3 separate regions of the Homo sapiens genome follow, and regions 1 and 2 are each linked to region 3. The links are contacts of gene promoters, found by promoter capture Hi-C in blood cells and fetal thymus (Javierre and others, 2016). All regions are on one chromosome and are shown on one strand. Each heading gives the region's core, a stretch centred on a gene start or on the middle of the fragment in contact. The rest is flanking DNA. Distances are from core to core; before and after follow the strand shown. Region 1 holds the start of C4orf33 (chromosome 4 open reading frame 33). Region 2 holds the start of ZNF827 (zinc finger protein 827). Region 3 holds the start of NOCT (nocturnin).

Region 1 (3,158 bases), core at 52-2,551, 9.9 Mb after region 3:
AAAATTTCCAAATTCCTCTGCTCAACAAAAATTTCTTTAGTTTTTCTACAATAATGATTTCTTTTCAGTTTCCATACCTCCCCGAGGCCCCGCCCATTTATCAGGGAAACGGAGAAATGAGGAAGTCAGCCTGAAAGGGGGAGTACGCTCACTTAGCAGGAGACAGCTGAAAAGTAAAATACTTTTCAGTATTTTCCAGAGATCAAGCGAAAAACAAGACCTGGCGACGACGAAAGGAATGTCAGAGAGAAGAGGGAACAACTAGAGAACACAGACCACGAAGCTTTTCTCAAACACTGGCTTCTTCTTTTCAGCCGAGGTCACAGGAGAGGGCTCGGCTTTAGGCTCCACCCAGCTGCCTACACGTTCTGGGGGAGGGGCTTAGAACACTGAAGCTAAGACGCTTGATTTTTCTAGGAAAGAAAGATGTTGAAGGGCCACACATGAACAACTGAAGACTTCTAATCGTTCCACTAAAGTATGAGTGGTTTCCTAGAAGAAGGAAGGGTGATTCAGAAATATAAATACTGTGCAATAATTTGAAAATCAACTGTAAATCATTAAGATTACAATATAACATGTACAGAAATATTTCATTTAATACAACTAAAGGCTAACTGGCCATATAAGCAAAAACTATAAATTATATTATACCAGCTATAAACTATATTATACTATATTCCTGGGGAGGCATGTTCATAGCAGTTAACAATTGTGAAATTAGAACCATACTGCCTGGGTTCAAATCTCAACTCAGGCACTTGCCAGCTGTGTGATCTGTTCTGATCCTTGCTTAAACTTCTAACTTTGTATTCTTCCTGGTACTTTGCACATAGTACTGGGTGCTCAATGTCAATTGATCAACCAAATGAATGTTAGTGAAATGTCACTAATTTTCAATCTATACAACTTTAGGGGTTTTCTTTATTGCAGAAAAGTCATATAAAAACATTAAATGGTGGCTTGACAAGAGTTACACACAAACTACATACATTTCTGCTTGTCATTCCTTGTATTCAATTTATACTAATAGATACTTTTCATGAACATCCACTGAATTCTTTCATTCCTTCCATCAGATATTTAATCAACTCTGTGTTCCAGGTATTATGATGGAGCCTGGAGACAAACTACAAAACATGACAGATAATGCAGGAAGGAGCATGAAGTAAGTACTAAGGTGGCACCTACCTTGGGAGAAGTGGATAAAGAACTCAGGAGATGTGAAAAGGAGGAACATGAGAGGGGATCCTTTAAGGATAAGTGAAATCATCACAATTTTGTTTCCTAATGATGAAACTTATGTTGAAAATACTCCATTAAAATTCAACTACTAAAATCTTGTAACCACAAACACAAACGCAAAAACAAAAAACTATCATGATCATAATTATGATCATGTAAGCTAAAAAATTCGAGTGCAGACATAAAAGTTTTCACCTGAGATATTCACTTTATGTAAATACCACTCATCAGTTATAGCCAGAAGGTATTTGCTTCCATCCAGTTTGGGTGTAAGCGTAGAGTTAAGTCTATAATTATTTATTTGATGCCAAGTAGAAATACGACAATATACAAGGTTCAAATGTGGGAGAAGTTACAAGCAAGTCCTTGGAGAGTCAGTGAGATGTTTATGAAGAAAGAGTCATATACTGAACTTCAAAAACGAGTTGGACCTTGCACACTCAATTTTCCCTTAGCTATAACGTTTATACAAAAAGTTTTTGTGTAAACGTTATAGCTACTAAAAATCAGAACAAGTTCAATTATCACCAACTCAAAGCTGGATTAGACCTTTTCAATGATTATTAAGCTACACATCCATATTTAACAGCTAGTCTTTAGAGGAAGGGACCATCTCATTCTATTAACAGTGAGTATTGAGTAAGGCCTTCAGATGCCTAACTGCATATATTTGAATACATTTTTAAAATTTCTTAACACATATCGCTAAGGTTACTTTGTTTATATGACATTATGAGTACGGGACAACAAAACTCTTAAGCCGTTAAACAGAAAGCCAAATCAAGCTGCATCTATGACATGCCTGTTTAGTGAAACTTTACTTCAGTCCATAAAAATACAATTTATTAAAAGCACAAAACTAGTGGCTAGCTTCAAGTTAACATTTTTGTTGCTAGTGGTGAGATTTCCTCTAATGTTAAATGATTTTTTTTAAAAAAATACGTTTTAAGTCCAGACAAAATTAATTTTCAAAAATGAAAATTGTAATCTATCCACAAATGTAAGTTTTACCGTTTTGTTTTTTGCAAAAAAAAGTACCTTTTATCTTTCCTTATATTTGAGGAAACAAGCTTATCTTTGAAGAAGTAGCTGCTGAATTTGCAAGATCTTTTGAGTACTTCTAACTACACGCTTTATTACTACACAGTTAAATATTTAAACAACAGTTGTCTCCTTTGTCTAAAGACCCACAAAGACCGAGAAGGTACTTACCTTCTTGAGATGACCAAATCCAAACCTAGAACTCCTCCAGAGGTACAGCCTTGGTGGGAGATTCTGAAGACGCCAGTCTGGCTTCTATCCCTAGCCGCAGGAACCTGCATCTTTTACTTAGTCCAGAAAGGCTTAGTATATTAGTAACCCAAAGATAGTGAGGGCATTTAAACTGTGTATTTCATTCTCTACTCACGTTTGCATTTTGGTTTTTTGTTTGTTTGTTTGTTTGTTTTAAAGAGGTTGGGCCTCACTACCTGGAGACACTGTCCCACCAGTTTGGCCGCCGCGCCAAGCCGGTGGCTCAGCCCGCTGTCATCCAGGTTCTCACGACTCCTCCCATTGCTTGACAGCCAGCCAATAGCGTGCTAGGACTCTAGGACGCGCGATGGCGTAAGCTCCAACGCCCGCGTGATGACGCAAGAGGCGCCACCGTCTCCAAGGAGTGGTCCGGGGCACCGGTTTCAAAGTCGCAGGGCGGGCCGAGTGGACTTCCGCTGCTGGCCTGGGGCTTCCCAGCCGTCTTGGCGTTGTCCTCTCCAACCCCCGCCGCTCCGCGTAGAACGCCGCTCTCAGGCTGCCGTCAAGCTCCCGCGGCACTCTCCTAGGTGGCCCGACGAGACCCAGAGTGACCCGCGGGACGCCTGTATCGACCGCGTCCTCTTCCCACCAGCGTGGGATTCGGTTGAACGTGGAGTCCC
Region 2 (3,136 bases), core at 226-2,725, 6.9 Mb before region 3:
TTATTATTTTTAATAAGGCAAGTCAGAATTTAACCCCCATGGCTCTCTTTAACACCACTGAAGTTGTAAGAATTAACTCAACCTCAAAGAGGCATGAGTTATCCATGTAGGCTTATAGAGTGTCATTTTAATGTTCTATGTCTTTACTGTGCCTCCACTTTCTTTGATGAAAAGGTCTATTTAAAAATTGGTAGGAAAATATTTAACATAATAAGATGATGAGTCAGAGTTTTAAAAAAGCTAAAAAGGGAAGATGTAGTTAAATAATGCACCTTTTTATTTTCTAGCTACATGACTCATGACATATAATGTATTCTGCTAAGTTCAAAGTTTCCTCTTACAAAGAGAGTTTTATGAAACAACTCTTCTTCAGACCATTTTTATTTCAATTATAGTAGCAGGTTTTGGAGTTTAAATCATTAACAACCTCTGAGTGAACTTTTATCCAAATGACTGCAAGTCACAAAGAGAACAGTCCTCTTTCACCAAGTACCTTTTGTGCTCTAGTGAGACCCGTCCTTTTCTATTTTTCTCCTTTATGTCTCTCTTTGAAGAAAGATGTGTGATTTGTAAGGTAATGAAAGTATGTATCAGTTAATGAAAACTGCTATATTGGGCTCATAATGCACACTGGAATTGCTTCAGGGTAAACTTCATATACCTGCAGTATATAGCAGGGGAAAAAGTGAATTTCCGAAGTAAAGATTGCTGTGTGCACTCTAGGAGTATCACGTAGCAGTTAAAGCAACCATCAGGGGTGACCTAATCTTATTTTCCTCTCTTTGTCAAGTAGCTGTAATGTTCATTTAGGAGCATTTTTCAGTTTTAACTCCAGTGGACACTCCAAAACTGGGCACTTATTCTGTCAACTGTCAACCAAGTTATTGATTTCACCATATGTTGTCTTCATTTTTTTTAAATTAGTTTTTTTGGAATGTTTTTGAAGAGTGTGTGGGAGACGATAACCTCCAGATTTAAGGTGATGGGGTAGGGACAAAAGCCTGCAGAATTTCATACAGAACAAAATGTAGCTTAATAAACAAAAGAAAGTGAAGAGAGAAATTTATTTCCTTTTTAAAAGTCAGTAAAATAATGAACTAATCGTTGTTTAAAGAGTGAGAAAAACTTTTTCCCCCTAGATTTGGTGACTAGCGGGATAAATTTGAAGAACTCCATCCCACCCCCGCACGCGCGCCCCCCATTCTTTCCAGACAGAGCGGTTGTAAATCCGAGGCTGAGTCCGCCCTGGGAGCCTTGGGGCACTTTCCTCTTTGCTCTGTGTGTGTGTGTGCGTGCGTGTGTGTGTGTGTAGCTCTCGCTCTTTCCCTCAGTCTGTGCCTCTTGTGTGTGTGTGTGTGTGACAGAGAGAGAGCGAGAGAGAGAGCGCGAGAGGAGAGAGAGCGAGAAAGAGAGAGAGAGAGAGCAAGAGAGCGAGCTGTGAGCTGTGCTGCCGCCGCCGCTGCCCTTTGATCCCGACATTAGTGTTAGGGGCTCGGAGACACAGAGCGCGGCCATAGACACCGCCGCACCGGCACTCATTTATTTATACCTCCCATCACACACGCGAGCATAGGACACACACACACTCACACCTATTAGATCCGTTTCCATTGAAGAATATTACGCTCGGGGACAAGCCAGGTGCACGACCAAAAATTTAAAAAAAAAAAAAAAAGGAAAAAAGAAAGGAAAGAAAAGAAGAAAACCCCTCTTCTGGCTCCAGGAAACAAGCTTCAACCCATTGCACACACCGGAGAAGGGGTTTCCCCCTGCCCGCCCGCCCGCCCCCCAACTACCTCCCCGCTCCTGCCAGTGTCTGCCTCTCTGCCCCCACGGGGGTTTATTTGATCTCACATTAACCAAGGAGGAGAATGTGAGAAAAGGGGGAAAATGCCCAGGAGGAAGCAGGAGCAGCCCAAGCGCCTTCCCTCACGTAAGTCATCCCTTCTCCACCTCCTCTCGTGCCATTTTCTCGCCCTCCCTCTCCTCTTTCCCCTCCGCAGCCTCCTCCGTTGTTTTCTGCATTAGTTTAGGGTTACAGAGGTGAAACTGACAAAGACACAGCCCGGGTTACTCCTCGTTTAGGTCTATGCTGAGGCAGCCATGTTGGTGATGATCAGCCCCGTGCCCTTTCTATTCTCTCTCTCTTTTTCTTTCTTTCTCTCACCCCCCCCCTTTTTTTCCTTGAGATCGGGCTTTTTTTTCCCTTTCCCTCCCCTTCCCCCTCCTCACTCTGGGTTGCTGGGGGGAGGGGGCAAGAGAAGGGAGGAGGGGAGTAGTGTGGATGCCGGGGGTTTTATCGGGGGTTTGGTGGGGGGAGGTGGGAGAGGTTGGAATCTTAAAAAAAAAAAAATTCCTTGTGGATTCCGGCGCCTGAGGGTGCGGGGGTCGGGGCGCGCGGAGGGCTGGGGGCCGTGACATGGCGTTTGGGGGTGTCGGGGAGAGGGCGCGCAGCAGCCGCCGGGTACAGGATCCAGGGAGAGGTCCGTCCCTGGCTAAAGGTTGCGCCGGGGTTGGTCGGCCCCCGAGCCGCCGGCGGCAGCGGCGGCGGCGGCTGGAGCAGGAGGAGGCGGAGGTGGAGGAGGCGGCGGCGGAGGAGGGGAGTCGGGGGCGGGCGAGGCGGGAGCGGCTGGGGAGGGTGTAGGGGCACCGCACACAAACACACGGGTACACACGCGCCGCCGGGCGGCTGCTCCCGCGGCGCCGAGGCGAGGGGGCGCGCCGGGGCGCGGGGCGGCCGGGCGGGGGGCGAGGCCGGGCAGCGGCGGGCGGATGTGGGGTGCGGGAGCTGCGCCGAGGCGAAGGCAGGAGGCAGGGCGGCTCGCGGCGCGCGAGGTCCCTGCAGAGCGGAGGAGAGGGAGGAGCAGGGCTCCTGGCCGCAATAAAATGCGGGGTCAGTCGGAGCAGACGGAGCCGGGCGAGACTCGGGCTCTCAGACCCCCTCCTTGGCGAGCCTGAGCAGAGTCCAGGACTAAAGTGCATCACAGCCCTCCCCGGCGGCAGCCACACACGCCAACTGGAGACACACACCCGCCGGCACGGCCCGGTCCCCTTCCCCTCCTCCACCCGCGCCCCCGGTCCCTCTCCGCCCTCCCTCCGGCTTTTCTTTGCGCGACTCTTAACTTTTCCCCCACTC
Region 3 (3,129 bases), core at 575-3,074:
ACCCGCCTCCGCCTCCCACAGTGCTGGATTACAGGCGTGAGCCACCGCGCCCGGCCTATTTTTTTAAATTTTATAGGCCGGGGGGGCGGTGGCTCACGCCTGTAATCCCAGCACTTTGGGAGGCCAAAGCGGGAGGTTCACCTGAGCTAGGGAGTTCGAGGCCAGCCTGACCAACATGGAGAAACCCCATCTCTACTAAAAATACAAAAATCAGCCTGGCGCGGTGGCGCATGCCTGTAATCCCAGCTTCTCGGGAGGTTGAGGCAGGAGAATCGCTTGAACCCGGGAGGCAGAGGTTGCGGTGAGCCGAGATCGCGCCATTGCACTCCAGCCTGGGAAATAAGAGCAAAACTCCGTCTCAAAAAAAAAAAAAAAAAAAGTTATGTATTGCCTAGTTTTGAAAGAAAAAATTTATCAATTTTTAAAGTATAATTAATTTGTATGTAATTTGTGGCCATGGTAATGTGTGCCCAGGCAGAAACAGAGGTAGCAAAAAAGGAAAACTCAGGGTAGTTATTATGATGTATGAAAACAGCTCTTGGTGAAACTAAGGCCTCACTTTTACAAGATCTTAGATACACAGGACAAAAAATGATGTTAACTATAAAGAGTGGAAGCCTCCAAAAAAAAAAAATCCAAAGAAACGTAAAATGGCCGAGCGCGGTGGCTCACGCCTGTGATCCCAGCACTCTGGGAGGCTGAGGCGGGTGGATCACGAGGTCAGGAGTTCAAGACCAGCCTGGCCAAAATGGTGAAACCCCCGTCTCTACTAAATATACAAAAGTTAGCTAGGCGTGGTGACTGGCGCCTGTAATCCCAGCTACTCGGGAGGCTGAGGCAGGAGAATCGCTTGAACCCGGGAGCGGGAGGTTGCGGTAAGCCGATATCGTGCCACTGGACTCCAGCCTGGGTGACACAGTGAGACTCCATCTCAAAAAAAAAAAAAAAAAAAAAAAAAAAAAACAACGTAAAACGAATCAATGTGTTATTATCACGACTTAAAAAAAAAACTTAATATCTAGACCATGAAAGCTATATAAGCAAATAAGCATCATTTAGATTTTTTTTTCCATAAAAATTTCCGTTAAGTCGTGCAATAAAAAATGTAACCAACATAGTAACTCGCGGCCTCGGAAGGGGGAAATTTAACGGTCAAGAACAAGAAATTCTGAAAGCATGGCCTCTAAGGGTCAAGCGGGAACCTGAATACAGTCTCCCAGTTCTTACTAGCTTTGATGCAAGCCCCAGGCAAGTCGGGGAACAGGGAAAGAGGAAAAAGGGAACGCAGAAGGTTGCTCCGGTAAAGGACCCACTTTCAGGCCAGACTCCACGACCGGCAGCCCCGGGCTTCTCATTCATTCCGCGCGGTCTCCAGGTGGCGGCCGCGCGTTGGCGGCCGTGGCGTTCTCCGCCCGGAACTGGGGTGCACTCACCTGTTCGGGAACACGACCTCGCGGCGCCCGAGGCCGCCGAGGCCGCCGCCAGCAGCCGGGGGGATGCGGGCCTGGGAACAGCAGCCGGCGGGGACAACGGGCGGCGCAGCCCTGGGGCGGGCAGGCGGCGCAGGCCGGGCGCGTCCCTCTGCAGCAGGGCCGAGCAGAGCCGCCGCGGACTATGAAACATGCCGGGCGCCGCCGCCACCACGGCCCCTCGCGCGCCCGAGGAGCGGAGCCCGGCTGGGGCCGAGGGCACCGAGTCGAGCCGACTGTCCGGGCAGTGTGGGCGGATGCTCCCAGGCTCCTTCTCGCGCGGCGCAGGTTCTGGGGAAATCCCGGGCAGCAGAGCCGGAGAGGGAGGTGCAACACCGCTGCGTCGGCACCGTCTGCTGTGAGACCTGGCGAGACCTGCAGGGCGCCCGGCGAGCGCTGCGCGCTGACAAAGCGGGCGCTACCAAGCGGGAGCTGGAGGGGAATCCGCGGGACCCGGCCACTGCGCGGCCACGCCAGGCTCCCTCGACCCGGCGTAATCCTGTTTTAAAAGGAAGCGGGGCTTAGGCTGATTTATAGATAGAATCCGCAGGCGGTCTAAAATAAGAGGTATCCGTTGGAGCTGTTCTGAAGAAAAAAGCGTCCCCTTCCGCTGGCCAGCATGGAAGCGCCCACAGGCTGGGAATCCCGAGACAGTTCCAGGGCTGTGGCCCAGGGGACACGTGTCTGTCAGAGTGGCAGACGGCCTACGTGTGTGCCTGCGCGGGTCTGTGTGGATACAGCAAAAGGCGTCCGCCTCCGACCCCCTCGGCAGTGTGTGATGCGTTAAACGATATTAAGCACAATAAAGCACCGCCTGTGGGCGAGGCGACGATGATTAAAACAGCGTTCTTTTCCTCAAAAGTGTTATACTTAGGCAAAGGGAGCAGAAGGTGGCAAGGGAAGTCAGACCAGAAAGCTCTACAAGGTAGAATGAGATTATTGCCACAAGATGCCAAAGATTGGCTATAGAGATGACAACAGGCCCGGGCTCTCTAGAAGGTTCATTAGAAGGATTGGCATTTGAGTTGGCCTATGACGTGGAGGTCTAGAATTTACCCACGTGAAACTTTGGAGGGGGTGGTGGTGAGTTATAAATGAAAAAAGTAAATAAGGGTGTATTTGGGGAAACAACTCTTAGTCATGTAAGATGGAAGCTAAGGAGTAAGAGGACAGATGCGTGGATAGGTTGTAGTGTGGAAGGAAGGGGATTATAGTAGGCTTAATTCGGTGGATAGCTGCGAGCCGTTGACGTTTTGTAAGCTGAGCAAAGACATGGTCAGGGCTGTGCTTTAATTGGAAATCACATGTCTCTGGTTCATGAAAAGGCAGAAAGGAAATCAGCTGAGATAACAGATACTGTAGACCCGCACCAGGTTACTGTTACTGGAAAAGAAAGGATGGAAGAAACATCTCAGACAGGCTGGGCAGGAAATGATGACTAATCAGGAATAGAAATGGGATGAGGGGGAGGGAAAACCCAAGACTGGATTTTTCTCTGAATGATTCATGAGTTAGAAATGTATTCTATTGGTTTTCCCATGATTTTGCTGATTCCCCTGTGTTGTGGAATTGCAAGCTTTTCATCACAAGAATATTCTAAATATTTTTCAGACCTAGGTTACATATCTAACACCTGTGGATAGAGGGTGTGGACAGATCA

The links. Contacts are between HindIII fragments. The CHiCAGO score rates a contact against its expected background, and 5 or more counts as called.
Region 1: a contact is called between a fragment that was not itself captured here and the fragment with the promoter of NOCT in region 3, in 3 of 17 cell types (activated CD4 T cells, total B cells and total CD8 T cells). The highest score is 7.5, in activated CD4 T cells.
Region 2: a contact is called between the fragment with the promoter of ZNF827 here and the fragment with the promoter of NOCT in region 3, in 2 of 17 cell types (non-activated CD4 T cells and activated CD4 T cells). The highest score is 10.0, in non-activated CD4 T cells.

The regions. Positions count from the first base shown.
Region 1 is chr4:129,093,328-129,096,485 of GRCh38, reverse strand. C4orf33 (chromosome 4 open reading frame 33) reads right to left here and starts at 334. Exons shown (of 6, transcript NM_001099783.2): 1 at 277-334. SCLT1 (sodium channel and clathrin linker 1) reads left to right here and starts at 2,947. Exons shown (of 21, transcript NM_144643.4): 1 at 2,947-3,158. RefSeq lists an enhancer at 2,683-3,158. The HindIII fragment of the contact is 2,032 bases long and covers 286-2,317 here.
Region 2 is chr4:145,937,162-145,940,297 of GRCh38, reverse strand. It overlaps ZNF827 (zinc finger protein 827), which reads left to right and starts at 1,475. Exons shown (of 15, transcript NM_001306215.2): 1 at 1,475-1,933. The coding sequence starts at 1,891. RefSeq lists an enhancer at 2,099-2,158 and silencers at 2,533-2,602, 2,723-3,132. The HindIII fragment of the contact is 1,765 bases long and covers 1-1,733 here.
Region 3 is chr4:139,014,476-139,017,604 of GRCh38, reverse strand. NOCT (nocturnin) reads right to left here and starts at 1,824. Exons shown (of 3, transcript NM_012118.4): 1 at 1,434-1,824. The coding sequence starts at 1,623. RefSeq lists a silencer at 1,385-1,684 and enhancers at 1,825-2,174, 2,207-3,128, 2,265-3,129. The HindIII fragment of the contact is 5,482 bases long and covers 1-3,047 here.